2 separate regions of the Homo sapiens genome follow, and region 1 is linked to region 2. The links are contacts of gene promoters, found by promoter capture Hi-C in blood cells and fetal thymus (Javierre and others, 2016). All regions are on one chromosome and are shown on one strand. Each heading gives the region's core, a stretch centred on a gene start or on the middle of the fragment in contact. The rest is flanking DNA. Distances are from core to core; before and after follow the strand shown.

The links. The method cuts DNA at HindIII sites, captures the fragments that hold promoters and counts their contacts. A CHiCAGO score of 5 or more calls a contact.
Region 1: a fragment that was not itself captured here is called in contact with the fragment with the promoter of BEST1 in region 2 in 6 of 17 cell types (neutrophils, naive B cells, endothelial precursors and 3 more); the score reaches 10.2 in neutrophils.

The regions. Positions count from the first base shown.
Region 1 is chr11:61,836,563-61,840,450 of GRCh38, forward strand. FADS2 (fatty acid desaturase 2) reads left to right here. Exons shown (of 12, transcript NM_004265.4): 2 at 1,216-1,326; 3 at 3,772-3,888. Among named protein-coding and RNA genes, the nearest start is that of FADS2, 10 kb to the left of the region's middle. RefSeq lists an enhancer at 2,171-2,728. The HindIII fragment of the contact is 3,248 bases long and covers 272-3,519 here.
Region 2 is chr11:61,947,400-61,951,617 of GRCh38, forward strand. It overlaps BEST1 (bestrophin 1), which reads left to right and starts at 2,952. Exons shown (of 11, transcript NM_004183.4): 1 at 2,952-3,028. The HindIII fragment of the contact is 17,311 bases long and covers 1-4,218 here.

The DNA.
Region 1 (3,888 bases), core at 646-3,145, 110 kb before region 2:
CTTGCTATGTTACTCAGGCTGGTCTTGAACTCCTGGCCTCAAGTGATCCTCCTGCCTCTGCCTCCCAAAGTGCTGGGATTACAGGCATGAGCCCCTGCGACCAGTCAAGAGTTGCAGTTTTTATATCATTTTAGTCTCTTTTAATCTAGACCATGCTTCCGTACTTTTGTTTTTTCCACAAACTTGTATGTTTTTCCCCAGCTATATTGATTTTTCTGATTGTTTCTCATGGTGGAGTTTGACTGGTTTGCCAATCCTACCAATGTCTGGAAGCTTGATTTGATGCAGATTACACAGTGTTCACCACTGGGACATTCTATTGCATCCCCTCAGGGGAGCCTGGTGCTGGCTCATCTCTAATAGAAATACTAGATTTTTTATGAGATAATTCATGTAATATGCATAATATGTATAGAAAAAAGCTGGAAGGAAAAATGCTAAAATATTAGCAATAATGACCACTTTCTGGGTGATATTTATTTTCCTCTTTATTCTGCTGTGCCTTTTCTAACTTGGCCAAAACTCAGCACGTTTTTACTTTATAATTGGGAAAAAAAGATTAAAATGTGTATCATTATAGCAGTGTTAGAGTTTGGAAAGTAATGAAAATAAAGCAAGGCATAATCCAGCTACCTTAACATGTGCAATAATAGCCTAGATCCTCCTAGGCTTTTTTTCAGGAACGCTTTTTACATAATTCTGTGTTTATTTTTTTATTTACTTCATCACAGCACATTTCCAGTGCCAAGGTAGTATTCGGTCTTGTCCTTTTCATTGACCACCCTGGACATGTAGGTGAGGAACTAGTAAGAGATGGTGGGTGGTGTGGTTTGTGCACCATGCAAGGCACTCAGCTCACGAGCAGTCGAGGCTCAAGTCCTCCCTGAGCCCCGTGTCTGCCTGGTGCGCCTTCCTGGAGGGTCACCATTTCCCGACCTGCCCAAAGGCAGCCTATGCATCTATTCACAAACCCCTGGGGAGTGTAGCATGCCTGCACCAGCACAGAAGCCCAGGTGGCTGTTGCCATTGGCGTTGGGCACTGAGGGCTCTGTCCTGGAAAAATGCTGGAGACGGCATTTGGGGCCAGATCACAGGAGACCCCGTTTGGTGTCTGGGTGCACACATGGAGCTGTTGCTGGTGAGCACTGTCCTCCTTGGGGCCCAAGAGCAGACAGAGTTCAGGTCTTAGCCTCATCACTGCCCTCTGCTCTCCAGGATGCCTTCCGCGCCTTCCACCCTGACCTGGAATTCGTGGGCAAGTTCTTGAAACCCCTGCTGATTGGTGAACTGGCCCCGGAGGAGCCCAGCCAGGACCACGGCAAGAACGTAAGTCTGGCTTGCAACCTGGGTGGGGGTGGAGACGAGGCTGGGGGTGGCTGGGAGTCTGAGAGAGGCTCCCCTTGCCCCATGACCAGTAACTGGGGCTGAGGCAGGGGTGCTTTTGTCCTGGAGGAGCCACTGTGGTTCACCTGTGTTCAGGGAGGGCCTCAGAGCCTCCCTGGGAGCCGGGGTTTGACAACAACTAGTGGCGTCTCCTCTCTCCTGGCCAGTTTCATTTTCCTTCTCCTCCATCCCTTTCCAGGAAGGTGCCAGATGACAATCTAGGGGAAAGACAGGACAGAAACACCGAAAAATGTCATTTGATGACAAGAGTGGCTTTGGGGTGTGTGGTCCGGGGCACCTCTTTGAGAAAGAATGACCATTCCCTGGTCATCTGTTCATTGTCTGCAGGTCAGACGCCCCCCTGGGTGCTGGGCTTCCAGGACAGCCATGTGTGAAAATAGCAACCCCTGAGGTCTCATGGGCTGTTGTTTTGTTCAACAATGAAGTCTCCATGTAAATGGCGGAGCCGTTTATAGAAGAAAGTTGGGACAGGAGGCAGGGGCAGGGCAGGACGGGGAGGAGAGTTGTTACAAGGAGAGGAGTGGTACCCACAGGCTGTGACCAGGGTGGTCATGGAAGTCCCACCCTGGCCTCAGCAAGCTCTTCCTCCTCTTGTTGCCAGCCTGGGCCAGACCCCTCTGTTTAGCAGAGCCAGGGCAGGACCAGGGTCTCTCCCGGCCTGGACTCTTGGCCAGTCCCCCACCACCCCCATTGCCTCTGGCTTTCCTGATGAGCTGCGGGCCACCCTGCAGGTCCTTCAAAGGCCAATGCCCCTCCTCTCACCTTGCCCTCCATGGCACATGAGATCACCTGCCCTGTACCCATGCCAGCCCATGCTTGTCCCCTCCTGCCTCCTTCGCAAGTGGGTCCATCTCCCACTCTCACCTCCAGCACCTCCTGGCCTGCGGCTTCCCCAGCTCTGCTCGTCCTGCCCTGTAGCTCCCTTGTCCATGGCCTTGCTCCTTGGCTCTCTCCACTGCTCTCCCTTTCTGCTGCAGATCCTGCACCATTTAGCATCCAAGCTCCCACCAGGCACCACCAGAACCACCCTTCATAGCACCTTGGTCATGCCCTGTGGGTACCGCTCCTCTCCTTGTATCCACTCTCCTCCCCGTCCGGCCCTGCCCCTGCCTCTTGTCCCAAGTTCCTTCTTCCTCGCAATGCCATTGTGTTCCCAGGGCCCTCCTTGACTCCGCTTTGCCTCCCTGGCTCCATGTGCCCGGGACTCACAGCCCCCTCCTGCCTGCCTCAGCTCGCCCTCCTGCGCTAGTTTGTGTCGCCCCCAACTCAACCCCTCAAGACCCAACAGTGTGCGCAGAGCAAGTGGTGCTCTGTTTGGTGGTGGAAAATGCAAGTTTTATTTTTCTTTTCTTTTCTTTCTTTCTTTTTTTTTTTGAGATGGAGTTTTGCTCTTGTTACCCAGGCTGGAGTGCAGTGACACCATCTCGGCTCACTGCAACCTCCGCCTCCAGGTTCAAGCAGTTCTCCTGCCTCAGCCTCCCATGTAGCTGGGATTACAGGTGCCCATCATCATGCCTGGCTAATTTTTGTATTTTTAGTAGAGATGGAGTTTCACTATGTTGGCCAGGCTGGTCTCGAACTCCTGACCTCAGGTGATCTGCCTGCCTCGGCCACCCAAAGTGCTGGGATTAAAGTTTTCTTTTTTAAAAAAGTGTGGTCAACCATTTTGGTCATTTGACGTGTACAGTTCAGTGGCATCAAATAAGCACATTTACATTGTTATGTAACCATCACCACCATCCAGTTCTCATCTTCCCCAAATTGAAATTCCACATCCATTAAGCACTCACTCCTCATTCTCCCACCTCTCAGCCCCTGGCAGGCACCATTCTACTTTCTGTCTCTGAATTTGGCCTCTCCAAGGACCTCCTGTATATGGAATCATACAATATTTGTCCTTTGGTGACTGGCCTGTTTCCCTTAGCATGATGTCTTCAAAGTTCACTCACATTGTAGCATGTGTCAGAATTTCCTCCCTTTTCAAGGCTGAGTAATATTCCATTGCATGGATAGACCACGTGTTGCTGATCCATTCATCCATCACGAGATCTTTGTGTTGTTTCTACCTTTTTCCTGATGTGAATAGAGCTATGAACACAGGGTGTATAAAATGCAAGCTTTTGAGTCAAAGCCTTTCTCTGTCACTCTTACCTAGCTGTGACAAATATACAGGCCCCAGGGCTGTGTGGGGCATGTGGTAACAGCAGCTATTGTAGGGACTCCTGGAGGGTCGAGGCTTGTGGCTTGGCCCCCTCTTGCCACAGCTTCTCTGGGTTGTGCATTGGCTGTTGAAATGGCAGCTCGAGACATATGTTCCCTCCAGAGTGGCTGGTGGCTGACTCCTTTCCCTGTGCTCTTGGTCAACAGTCAAAGATCACTGAGGACTTCCGGGCCCTGAGGAAGACGGCTGAGGACATGAACCTGTTCAAGACCAACCACGTGTTCTTCCTCCTCCTCCTGGCCCACATCATCGCCCTGGAGAGC
Region 2 (4,218 bases), core at 1,702-4,201:
CAGCACTCATGACTTTGCTGTGTGCCTGAGCCGTGCCTGGCTAACTGGGGACATTTTCATAGCTGAGACCCAGTAGGAGAGACCATGACTTGTGCCAGGGTGTGCCTGTCTCAGCTCTGGGGCAGGGCCAGGAGCAGCTGCTCATGGGATGTCTCTGGGGACATGCTGGGGCCTCTGGGAGGGGAAGGGAGACTGGCCATGCACTGTCTATGGTCCTGGTGGTACTCCTGGGATATTGCCAAGGAGCCTGCGGTTCAGGGAACAGGGAGGAGGGACTCTAGTGTCTCCAACTCCCTCTCATGGCTCTATGGCTGCTGGTCGGGGTCAGGGAGATGAAGCAGTGCCAGCTCCGTGGTCTGCACTGATCCTGACCAGTGAACCAGGCTTCCCCAGCCAGAGCCAGCTAGTCAAGCACGCTCTCTAGTGGCCACCACAGGGAAGGCAAGAACTTGTCTCCACAAAGGCAGGATTTTCATTTATTCCTTCAGAGAGTACAGAATGAGCATCAATGTTCCAGGCATGGTGCCAGGCATGTGTGTTAACTTTAGTTAAAACATACTTATTGGCCGAGTGTGGCGGCTCACTCCTGTAATCCCACCACTTTGGGAGGCCTAGGTGGGAGGACTGCTTGAACTTAGAGCTCAATACCAGCCTGGGTAATGTAGTGAGACCCTATCTCTATAAAAAAAAAAAAAATAGCTGGGTGTGGTGGTGTGCGTCTGTAGTCCCAGCGACTTGGGAGGCTGAGATGGGAGGATTGCTTGAGCCTGGGAAGTGGAGGTTGCAATGAGCCAAAATCACACCCATTGCACTCCAGCCTGGGTGACCTTGTCTCAAAAATATAGTTATATATTTACTTATATATTTATATGTATAAATATATGTGTACATACAAATATATTTGTAATATTATAGACATATTAATACATATTTACATATGTTAATATATAAATATATATAATATATATTTATCATCTTCTAAATGGAAAGCTCTTGAGTTTCAGGATGTGTTGGTTGGGAAGGGAATACAGGATAGGGAAATAATCCATTAAGCAATGACTCAGCACAGGCCATAAAATCAGAATCACCTGGAGAACTTGAACAATCCCAACACCTGGGGTCCATCCAGACCAATCAAATCAGAATTCGTAGGGGTCAGGCACAGGCACCAGTGGTTTGGAGAGTTGACGGACACATGTCCCATCCATCATTCTCATTCGGCTGCCAAGGTAGGCATCGTTGTCCCATTTTGCATATGAGGAGACTGAGGCTGAAGTGAACCTGCTTCTTTCCCCATATCAGTTGAGGACAGCGATGGGGCAGCGGGGAGGCAGTAAATACTCCTACAAGGCTGCCTCTAAAGAGAGTCTTATAATAACAACAGCTTTATTGTTTGCCATGATTAGAAAAGTATTCAAGGTCATTGCGAAATAGTGTTTTTTTTTCTAGGCAGATAATTATATAAAGGCAAAAATGGTGTGTGGGGGTGGGGGACAAGGGGAGGGAGAGCATTAGGACAAATACCTAATGCACGCAAGGCTTAAAACCTAGATGATGGGTTGACAGGTGCAGCAAACCACCATGGCACACGTATACCTATGTAACAAACCTGCACATCATGTATACCTATGTAACAAACCTGTACATTCTGCACACGTATCCCAGAACTTAAAGTGAAAAAAAAAGTGGTGTGTAGAAAAATCACCTGCAATCTCAGCATAGTTAACGCTTAGTACATTTCAGAGAGAGAGGGTGACAGGAAAGGGAGGATGAGAGTGGGTTTAAGACACAAGGTCATATTATAAAATCAGGGCTTCTGGAAGTTTAGTCCCAAAACCACACATCTCATAATCCCCTGCAGTGCTTGATTAAAATGCAACATCCCTAAGGCCACAGACTCAGACTCTGGAGAAAGATCCAGAAAACTGCCCGTTTAATAAACATTTGGGCGATTCTTACGGCCTCTAAAGACCAAGAACCACTGCTGCCTAGAGCTCTGCTCTCTTCATTGAACAATACAAGAGGAGTGTGTAGGTAGACACCCACCACTTCCAACAGCTTAGGAGAGCCCTTGAGTATGGATTGATGTATTAAAATTTATTGAATCACATGCTGAGATTTTCACCAGCTGCCCGTGGGGATCTGGGCATTTATTCCCATATTGCACTGGCTGGCTGGAAGCCAGCAGCATAAACTCCAGGGCTGTTCTGTCAACCCCCACCAGACTCACCCCCCTCCACCAGCCCCGGCAGGCTTCTCCTTCCATCTCTCTGAAGCAACTTACTGATGGGCCCTGCCAGCCAATCACAGCCAGAATAACGTATGATGTCACCAGCAGCCAATCAGAGCTCCTCGTCAGCATATGCAGAATTCTGTCATTTTACTAGGGTGATGAAATTCCCAAGCAACACCATCCTTTTCAGATAAGGGCACTGAGGCTGAGAGAGGAGCTGAAACCTACCCGGGGTCACCACACACAGGTGGCAAGGCTGGGACCAGAAACCAGGACTGTTGACTGCAGCCCGGTATTCATTCTTTCCATAGCCCACAGGGCTGTCAAAGACCCCAGGGCCTAGTCAGAGGCTCCTCCTTCCTGGAGAGTTCCTGGCACAGAAGTTGAAGCTCAGCACAGCCCCCTAACCCCCAACTCTCTCTGCAAGGCCTCAGGGGTCAGAACACTGGTGGAGCAGATCCTTTAGCCTCTGGATTTTAGGGCCATGGTAGAGGGGGTGTTGCCCTAAATTCCAGCCCTGGTCTCAGCCCAACACCCTCCAAGAAGAAATTAGAGGGGCCATGGCCAGGCTGTGCTAGCCGTTGCTTCTGAGCAGATTACAAGAAGGGACTAAGACAAGGACTCCTTTGTGGAGGTCCTGGCTTAGGGAGTCAAGTGACGGCGGCTCAGCACTCACGTGGGCAGTGCCAGCCTCTAAGAGTGGGCAGGGGCACTGGCCACAGAGTCCCAGGGAGTCCCACCAGCCTAGTCGCCAGACCTTCTGTGGGATCATCGGACCCACCTGGAACCCCACCTGTGAGTACAAGGTGCCCCAGGTGGACTGGGCTGGGGCTTTGAGGCCTTCAGGGTTGGATGGCCATCTTGCGTATTTGTGTGGGATATGCACACACAGGCAGCACATGCGCAGGTGTGTGGGCACCTGTGTGTCTGTGCAAATGCCCTGAGGTGGGAATGAGCTTGGTGTGCATCAGGCACAGCCAGCCAGTGTGGCTGCAGCAAAACACACAGGGAAAGAATGGAGGGGGCATCAATCACTGCTTCAGTAAATTTTTATTGAGCGCCTTCTACGAGAACACAAGAGGAGCTTCCATTCTGAGGAGGAAACAGGCAGGAAACAGGCAGATATCCTGTATAATTTCAAGTAGTGATAAGTGCTCTCTAGAAATATCAAGCAAGGTGAGGAGACACAGAGCACCGGTGGCAGTGGGGCTCTATTTCCAGGTTGGATGGTTGGGAACATCCTTTCTAAAGGGAACCTGGAGTGGGAAGGAACCATGCAGGTATCTCAGGAAGAGCTTCCTCCAGGCAGGAAGATCAGCAGGTGGAAAGGCCCTGGAGCCACCATTCAGTAAACATCATTTGAGCATCTCTACCAGCTAGGTTCCATTATGGGAATGGGAATATGGTGGTGGACAGGGCTGCCTGGTCCCTTCCATACTTCTCACACTAGGGTGGTTGAGAGAGCTTGGGAGCTAACGAACAAGATGGGCTGAGAACACTGCCTAGCCCAGAGGACCTGAGCTTAGTGTGTAGACATTGCTGCTGTTACTGCCTTTGTCATTGTATTATTTATTTATTTATTTATTTATTTTTAGACAGAGTTTTGCTCTTCTTACCCAGGCTGGAGTGCAATGGCGTGATCTCAGCTCACTGCAACCTCCACCTCCTGGGTTCAAGCGATTCTCCTGCCTCAGCCTCCTGAGTAGCTGGGATTACAGGCACCCGCACCACGCCTGGATAATTTTTTTGTATTTTTAGTAGAGACAGGGTTTCACCATGTTGGCCAGGCTGGTCTCGAACTCCTGACCTTAGGTGATCCACCTGCCTCGACTTCCCAAAGTGCTGGGATTATAGGCATGAGCCACTGCGCCCAGTGATTATAGAAAGTTAAAGGCACATGGCAATGCACACGCCTATCTACGTCTTCCCTGCCAAAGCAAAGGGCAGCCTCTGGGCTCACTTTCTTGCGTTTCTACTTCCAAAAG